3 separate regions of the Homo sapiens genome follow, and regions 1 and 2 are each linked to region 3. The links are contacts of gene promoters, found by promoter capture Hi-C in blood cells and fetal thymus (Javierre and others, 2016). All regions are on one chromosome and are shown on one strand. The core of a region is centred on a gene start or on the middle of the fragment in contact, and the rest is flanking DNA. Distances in the headings are between cores, read along the strand shown. Region 1 overlaps ABCA5 (ATP binding cassette subfamily A member 5). Region 2 overlaps ABCA10 (ATP binding cassette subfamily A member 10). Region 3 holds the start of ABCA8 (ATP binding cassette subfamily A member 8).

Evidence for each region. Contacts are between HindIII fragments. The CHiCAGO score rates a contact against its expected background, and 5 or more counts as called.
Region 1: a contact is called between a fragment that was not itself captured here and the fragment with the promoter of ABCA8 in region 3, in 1 of 17 cell types (M0 macrophages). The highest score is 5.0, in M0 macrophages.
Region 2: a fragment that was not itself captured here is called in contact with the fragment with the promoter of ABCA8 in region 3 in 2 of 17 cell types (monocytes and M2 macrophages); the score reaches 7.2 in monocytes.

Annotation. Positions count from the first base shown.
Region 1 is chr17:69,252,183-69,255,290 of GRCh38, forward strand. ABCA5 (ATP binding cassette subfamily A member 5) reads right to left here. Exons shown (of 39, transcript NM_172232.4): 32 at 2,133-2,308; 33 at 1,612-1,687; 34 at 1,391-1,485. Among named protein-coding and RNA genes, the nearest start is that of PRO1804, 19 kb to the left of the region's middle. The HindIII fragment of the contact is 567 bases long and covers 1,228-1,794 here.
Region 2 is chr17:69,218,701-69,221,705 of GRCh38, forward strand. ABCA10 (ATP binding cassette subfamily A member 10) reads right to left here. Exons shown (of 39, transcript NM_001377321.1): 6 at 845-1,071. Among named protein-coding and RNA genes, the nearest start is that of ABCA10, 8.6 kb to the right of the region's middle. The HindIII fragment of the contact is 6,702 bases long and covers 1-3,005 here.
Region 3 is chr17:68,954,040-68,956,780 of GRCh38, forward strand. It overlaps ABCA8 (ATP binding cassette subfamily A member 8), which reads right to left and starts at 1,353. Exons shown (of 40, transcript NM_001288985.2): 1 at 1,180-1,353. The HindIII fragment of the contact is 10,640 bases long and covers 1-2,741 here.

The DNA of each region.
Region 1 (3,108 bases), core at 261-2,760, 300 kb after region 3:
TTTTTGTATTTTTAATAGAGACGGGGTTTCACCGTGTTAGCCAGGATGGTCTCGATCTCCTGACCTCGTGGTCTGCTGCCTCAGCCTCCCAAAGTGCTGGGATTACAGGCGTGAGCCACTGCGCCAGGCCATGACTTTTATATTCTAATTTATTTTCCCTTCATTTTGAAAGCTTGTCAAATGGAAAAAAAAAATCTATGATTTCAAATGTTAATATGGGCTAAAAGTATGACAACAAATAAATTTTAAAATTGATGCCTTTTCATGTTATAACCAAAACAGGCTTTGAATCATAAGAAAACCGTAACATGCATCCAAACCAAACCTTACATTTTATAGACATGGAAGTTGAGGCTTAAAGAGTTGTTCAAGGCCAGGCACTGTGCCTCACACCTGTAATCCCAGCAGTTTGGGAGGCCGAAGGGGGCGGATCACCTGAGGTCTGGAGTTCGGGACCAGCCTGGCCAACATGGTGAAACCCTGTCTCTACCAAAAATACAAAAAATTAGCCGGGCTTGGTGGCTCTTGCCTGTAGTCCCAGGTACTTGGAAGGCTGAGGCAGGAGAATCGCTTCAGCCTGGGAAGCAGAGGTTGCAGTAAGCCAAGACGGCACCACTGCACTCCAGCTTGGTCAACAGAACAAGACTCTGACTCAAAAAAAAAAAAAAAAAAAGAGTTGTTCAACTAATTAGTACTTTACAGGCACTGCATAATGACATTTCAGTCAATGATGAAACACATTTCCAACAGTGATTCCATAAGATTATAATACTTTTATAATGTATCTTTTCTGTGTTTAGATACATCTAGATACACAAATACCATTGTGTTACAACTGCCTACAGTATTCAGTGCAGTGACATGCTCTACAGATTTATAGCCTAGGAGTAATAGGCTATACCATATAGTCTAGGTGTGTAGTAGGCTATAACCACCCAGAGATTTATATAAGTACACTCTATTATGTTTGCACAACGACAACATCACCTTTCTCAGAATGTATCTCTGTCATTAGGCAATGCATGACTGTCCTAGAAAGAGTCTCAACATAAATTTAAGACACTATTATTATGGAAAAGATCATTTGTATGCTAAATGACTAGAAAAAAACTTAAAAACTATTCAGAACACTAGAACTCTTTATCTTAATAATGACTCATGCTTATTTCTGTTTCGGAATATGTAAAATATTATGAACACTTCATGAAAAATATGCAAAGTTTTAAAAGCTTAAGGAAATCTCTAAATCTATTTAATTTTTAATTACTAGTGTATCGTTTGAATAGGATTTAAAATCAAGATGTACATATAACTAACATTAAACTATTATAATAAAAGAAACTGTTCTATTCTAAAGTATCATGTACTGTGTCACAAGTACCATACTCACCACATGTGCTGTTTGGCTTTGGGATCCATACCTGTAGATGGTTCATCTAGCAAAGTAATCTGAGGATTCCCTAGCATACTTAGAGCAAAACACAACTACATGGAAAGAAAAAGATGGGTGGGAAATTAACAAAGGTTCACTATAAGGAATCTATCAAGACAATATCAGGTACTAAACTATCAATAAAAATACAGGCATTATTTGGTGTTTAATGAAAGTACCTTTCGTTTGATTCCTGCAGGTAGTTTCTTTACAGTCTTCTGAAGATGTTCTTTTAAATCAAGTGCATGTGTTATTCTGCAAAATGAACAATACAAAATGAGAATACCATGATATATATAAACACAAATACCAACTGGGTGTGATCCCTGATGTTGTTTTCTCTAGAATAGTTACTTAGTCGAAGCTTATTATAAGTAGGTAAGGGCAAAAGTCTCCAATTTACATCATTTTAAATAAATTAATATCTTGATAAAATGGTTCACTTTGAATTAAAATAAGTTTCATGATATCTATAGGTATATTTATCCTGTAACTAGAAATTAAAAAATGACCTTTTTATAACTATCATAATTTACAGCTATCAGTATATTTTCATATATCATAAAGAATATATGAAAAAGTAATAAACATTTTCTATAAAAATCATTGTCCACAGAAATGCTTGTTATGAAATTTTAAAAATATGAAATGCAAACCTTTCCTCTAAGTAACAAAAGGAATCTAAAGACAATTATTTTACCGACTTATGACTTCTTTCATGTCACTTGCACTCATTCCTTTGACAGCTCCATAAATTTCAAAATGTTCCTGCAATGTAGTATCTGGCCACAAAGGGTTTATCTGAGGACAGTAACCCATACACTTCAGTGAATCATCATCTTCACTTGTCTCTGAAGAATAATCTCCTAAAAATACCTATAGAAACACAAACCAATTTTTATTATTTTGCTTAATTTACACTGTGAAGGAAGTGGCAAGTACATTAATTAAAACCCCTTCCTACAGCCAGACTAATATCAAGTCAGATTTGTACTCCTTTATTGTCATTATTATTATTATCACTAAGTAACTGAGACTACAAACATGTGCCACCATGCCTGGCTATTGCTTTTTTCTTTTTTGAATTTTAGGAGGGAAGATGTCTCACTACGTTGCCCAGGCTAGTCTTGAATTCCTGAGCTCAAGTGATCCTCCTGCCTCAGCCTCCCAAAGTGCTGGGATTACAGGAATGAGCCACTGCACCCGCCCAGATGTTTTACTCCTTTTTGATGTTTGATGATGGAAGGACATATAAAGCTAAGTCAGAGTTCAGAGACTTGGTCAGAAAGGGTAATACAGAGTTGGATGAAAAAGCAAGATGTAATTCTAATGATCAGGGAGCTTCACTGGAAGGTGACATTTGAGCCAAAGAGGTAAGTGAATTTAGTATATGTATTTCTAGGGTATAAGGTATAGCCAAACAAAGAAAACATCTTGGGCAAAAACCCAAAGAAAAGAGTATGCCTGGCATTTTCCAGGAAAGCAATGAGTTAGTGTGGCTGGCATAAAGTAAGCAAGGGGAGAGAAGCAGGAAATGGGATCAGGGTAGTTTTGTGAAGTATCCACAAAGTGGTCAGTGACATGCTTATAATAAAAGACTAGCTGATGGCAGGTCAAAACAAGCTCCCATATCTCCTGAAGCTAATAAAACTGTCTTCCATTAAGTTGGTAGACAA
Region 2 (3,005 bases), core at 183-2,682, 260 kb after region 3:
TCTTTTACCATGCACTAACAAACACCGAACACTGTTTGTGCTGTGTGATTTAAACATATTGCCTCATTTAATCCTGATACCGTTTGATGAATTCCAACCAAATAACATTTTTACAGACTATGTGACCGGGCCTCAGTGACACTGTGGTAAATTCCTTTATTGCCCAAAATTATTTGAACTTTTTTCTGCTCCTCACTGTTATGAAAAGCAGCATAATTTCCCATGTCACTAAATGTGAGGTTGTCACTTTGACTAGCTTTGACCTCATGGTGGGCAGAACACACTTCTTCCCCTCTTGACTTTAGTTCTGTCCATGTGACTTACTTTAATGAGATTTTATTATATATGATGTGAGCAGGAGCTTGAAATGTGCTTGTGCAGAGAGACTTGCCCCCTTGTGTTTCTGTGATTGAATGAGAAGACCATGGCCAGCTAGCCTACTGGCCCAAGAAGGAAGTGAGTCACAGGAAGAACACCTGGATCTAACCTGTACCTTGAATCCAAGCCTGGCCAAGCCCAGACTAGATCTGCCAAAGTCCACCCATACTGCAGACAAATGAGAAAGAATAAATAATTGCTGCTTGAGGTCGTGGGGTTTGGGGTGGTTTTTATGCGGCATTTTTCGGGCAATATGTAATGATCACATATTTTTCTTCAACTCAGGGAAACATAAGCACAATCCTTACTTACTTTCTACTGCAAGCATCTTAAACTCTAATGCAAGTAAGGTGATTAAATTGAATACGTGCAAGAAAACTTGTGAGTGCGTCCAATTTTTTAAGAACCTAGTTAGTTTCTCTAATAATTAATGTATGATATACAGTAAAGTAGCAACTTAACTTACCAGAATGCTGACTCTCGGAGACCCATCACTGTCATCAGTTTCTTAAATTTTCCTCTTTCCCTTGCAACATTTAATGATGCAAAGTATATAAAAGAAGAGAAAGAAACTAAGCAAGTAAAATGAAACCATTCATTCATAATTTCTCCCTTAGAAATGAAAGGTGGTATCTTCATATTTATTCCAATAACTGATGTCAACTCCTCCATTACAGAATGATTTGTTGTGACCTAAATTGGGACATTAGCAAATTTATTATGTGAACTATAGACAAAATATATTAGAAAACTATACACTTTTTATTTTCGATTTCAATATTTACATATTCTCATCATTTTAAAGTATGAACTATTAATATCAGAACAATCTTAATAACTTTTGATACCAATTGACATTAATTATAAGAGTCATTTGAGAAATTACTGAAGGTCTGTCATGCATAATATACTGTGCTACGTAATGGGGAAACAGCAGCAATTCAAACAGAAACACTCTTCATTCTCATAGAGATTTACATTTTGTAGCGCAGCAGAAGAAAGGAGAGATATTAAATAAATCATTGCATAATAAATTGTTTAGTTACAATTGAGCAACTATGTTCAAAGAAAAGTGTAGGAAAATCAAGAAAGGCTTCCCTAAAGAAGTGACATTTTTACTGAGTGTTGAAGGCTGTGATCTTTCCTAAACAAAGATTGGGGGAGGGGGGGTGGTTGAGGATGGAGAAGAAAACTGTGAGCAGAGTAAACAGTATATGAAAAGGAAAGAAGGTGTATAGTGCGTTGGAGCACAGAAAAGAGGTTCCTGCCACAAAAACAAATAAATAGACTGTAGATAAGGCTGAAGAAATAAACCACTCCCATAGTTTAGGCAAGATATGATAAAGATGTGCCCTTGTGCAGGTGGCAGAACTGAAGTACATAGATTTGAGCTTAGAAATAAGAGGCCAGGTAAAAGATTGGATGTGATGAGTGAGACAGAGAAAATTTTCTCTGATAATCCCCAGTTCCTTTTACTCAGCTAGGTGGTTTTAGCATTCACTGAGATAGGGAAAATTTTATAAGACTCAGTCACATTTACAGAAAAACATCCATGTTCATTTTTGCGCATACTAAGTTTGAATTGCTTGAGACATCAAAGTAGAGGTATCCAGCACACAGTCAGATACATGGAGCTAGAGCAGACGTCTAGCTCTTTTAGTCCCTAGCTCCTTTAGAGGTCAGCAAACTTTAGTTCCCAGACCAAATCTGACCCACCACCTGTTTTTGTATATAACATTTTATTGAACACAGGCACACTCATTTGTTTGTGTTATCTACAGCGGCTTTCATACTACAACAGCAGAGGTGAACAGTTACAACACATTTGGCCCCCAGAGCCTAAAATATTTACTGTGTGGTCCTTTACAGAAAAATGTTGCTAGTCTACAAGTTAGAGTTCTTGGAGTCATCAGCATATAAATTATAATGAGAAGTACGGGAATAAATGAGACCATCTAGAGAAAACATATGGGATAGAAAGAGATGCCTGAGATAGAACTTTGTGGAACTACAGATAGAAAGATGTAGGAGTGTAAGGGGAGATAAGTTGGCAAGAAGACTGAGAGGGAAAGGCTAGAAATGGAGAAGGGAAATCAGGTGAATCTATGTTATTTAGTTGAAATATCAAGTAAGGTGAGGAATAAAGAAGCTGTTAATTGACATGGAAGTTGTTATTTACCTTAGAAAAAGCCCTTTTGATGGTGTGGTAGGGATAGATAATATTGAGTTGAGTTGAGTCAAAGGAGGACAACCCTTTCAAGAAACTTAGCCATTAATAGAAGGAAGTTAGGGTAGTTGTGTGAAGAGGAAAGTGGATAAAGGAAGGTCTTGACCATAAGTGAAGAAATTAATTTTAAATCCTGAAGAGAAGAATCTAGCAGAAAGGCAGAGATTGAAAAGAGGAGACAAAAACAAAAGTCCATAGTTGAACTTTGCTGATGAAGTTGGGAGGGATGGGATCCAGACCATGAACTGAGGAAAGACATTAGGGATGAAGAAAGAGAATGTGTGTAGGGGGTCATAGGTCTGTAGTTTTACAGGGTTTATGTTAGAAGTTGGGAGATATTCCCATGTGACAGCTTTTGTTTTCTCTGAGGATGACAGGCAAAGTATCACCTCCTAAGAGT
Region 3 (2,741 bases), core at 103-2,602:
CGTTTTATTATTATACTTTAAGTTTTAGGGTACATGTACACATTGTGCAGGTTAGTTACATATGTATACATGTGCCACGCTGGTGCGCTGCACCCACTAACTCGTCATCTAGCATTAGGTATATCTCCCAATGCTATCCCTCCCCCCTCCCCCCACCCCACAACAGTCCCCAGAGTGTGATGTTTCCCTACACTCCACCTCATGCACAAGCCCAAATATATCACAGCTTCTCTACAGAAATGCATAATTCACTGGCGAAGTTAATAGACATTGGCCAAGAGGATGATCTCCTCACTATGGAATCAGCTACAGTCTTAGGTAGCATGCAAACTCCAGTCTGACTCCAATCCCTTATATCTTCCATCGTAAAGTATTATTGCCAACTTTGTTTCTTTCCAATTTTTGTATGTTCTGCAGTTTATGTAAAGGCTAGCAAAAACATGAATACTTTATTATACATATGGCAAATAGTCTCAAATTGTAATGACTCATTTTTATCCTCTTATACTGTTGTAAAATTCAGAACAACATGTATTCACTATAGGAGTATGAAAATTCTTTTTACCAATGTACATTTTAAATAACATTGTGGTAAAGAGAAGCTACATATTTCACATTCTGATTCAACTCACTGTATCCAACGAGTAAAAGATCCTAGAAAGAATCTTACATTTCTAAAATTCTTATAGACTAAGAGTGAGCGATAGGAACAATAAAAATATTTCTGTAAGTGCTCTTGGTAAACAGTCTTAAAGTCAGAAGAACACTTATCCAAAATGCCCTACATTATTGTGCAATCAAAGTAGATAACTTTAACTTCAAAAACAACTCAGTCTTCCAACCCAATTCTTAAAACTCTAAGCTCTTCACAAAAAATTTTTAGCCAATTTAAACTTATTTCTACACTCAGTTATGTTTAAAACAACATAATGTTTGCATAATTTTTTAAAAAACATTCTAACTCAATGTTTTTATTTATCTAATATTAATTACCAGATATAAAATCTTTAAAGTAGCCCAATATTTTTCAAAATAATTTCTGCATAGATGATTGTCATTCAGTTTATAAAGGTTTATTTATAATTTTGTGATAGGAATAAGAAAAGACAAAACCTCTGAAACAAACTCACACACAAAAGCAAAATACAAAACAAAACAGAAAAAATACAGTGAACTTACTTCTGGGAAAATGGAAGCAAGGAATCTAGAGGTATGGTTTATCCACTGAGCTCCTTGTTTAGAAGAAAGTTATTCATATTTTCTCCTGGTCTCTACCATGTATCTAGAATTTGCTTTAACTATTTGACTTCTGTGAAAAGTTTCTGTGAAGACTGCTTTCAGAGTGGAGGTTATGATCTCAATTCTGTTGGCCCTGCCAAACATCACATTCACGTCATCATGCTTGGACTGTTTGTCTTCTCATTGATATTCGGCCAGTTCCTGCAGAGCAGTGGCATTTATACTGGGTTGCCTGGCTATATCATATTATAGGGAGCAATTTCTCTTTTACGTCCAAGATTATTGTGGCTAATACCAAAATTTAAAGTGCTGTCTTTAAGCCATGAGAAAGTAAACAGCTTAATCAGAGAAAAGCTCTTCTCTCTACCCAGAGCTCTAGTCTGCTTAATTGACAGCTTTACCTAGATAATCAAAATTTTCATTCCTCTGCTTCCCAGCTTCATTTTCACTCAGTTCAGACTATTTTCCAATTTATTTGACCCACGGATTAATCAGAAATGTGCTTAATTTCCAAGTGTCTGAAGATTTTCTTATCTTTTGGTTATTGATTTAATTTTAAATCAGAAGTTCAATTATACTCAGAAAAAATATTTTGTATGTCAAATTTGTTAAGGCTTATTTGATGACCCAGGATATGATCTATCTTGGCAGATATTCCATAGGCACTTGAAAAGTTGTATAGTTTTTTGGTGTTGAGTGGAATATTATATAATATCTATTACATTTAGTTGGTTGATGATATTGTTCAGTTTTTTCTATATTTTTCCTAATTTTCTGTCTCCTAGTTCTGTTGATTACTAAGAGAGGAATGTTGAAGATTTTAACAAAACTTAGGGACTTTCAAATTTCTCCCTTTAAAACTATCATGTTTTGCCTGATGTATTTTGCAACATTTGGAATTGTTATGTCTTCTTGGTGAATTGACCCTTTTATCATTATGTAATGTTAATCTTTATCTCTAGTAACTTTTGTGTTCTAAAGTCTACTTTGTTTCATATTAATAATATAGCCATTCTTACTTTCCTGTGATTATTGTTTTCGTGGTATTTTGTTTTCATCCGTTTATTTTTATCTACACACACACACACACACACACACACTATATGCTTTCAGAGTGGCAGTTATGATCTCAATTCTGTTGGCCCTGCCAAACATCACATTCATATTATATGTGTATGCGTGTGTGTGTATGTGTGTGTGTGCGTCTGTGTTTGTTATTATTTTTTTAAGATGATGGTCTTGCTATGTTGCCAAGGCTGGACTTGAACTCCTGGGTTCAAGTGATCTTCCCATCTCAGACTCCTGAGTAGCTGAAACTACAGATACATGCCACTATACCCAGCTCTAAATTGTATTTCAAGTGAGTTTCTTGTAGATGGCATATAATAGAGTCATGAGTTTGGTTTTTAAAATCCAATTTGACAATGCACATCTTTTAATGGGTGTGTTTAAATTATTTTCATTTTATGTAGCTATTGATTTTTAAAATCAGATCTGCCATT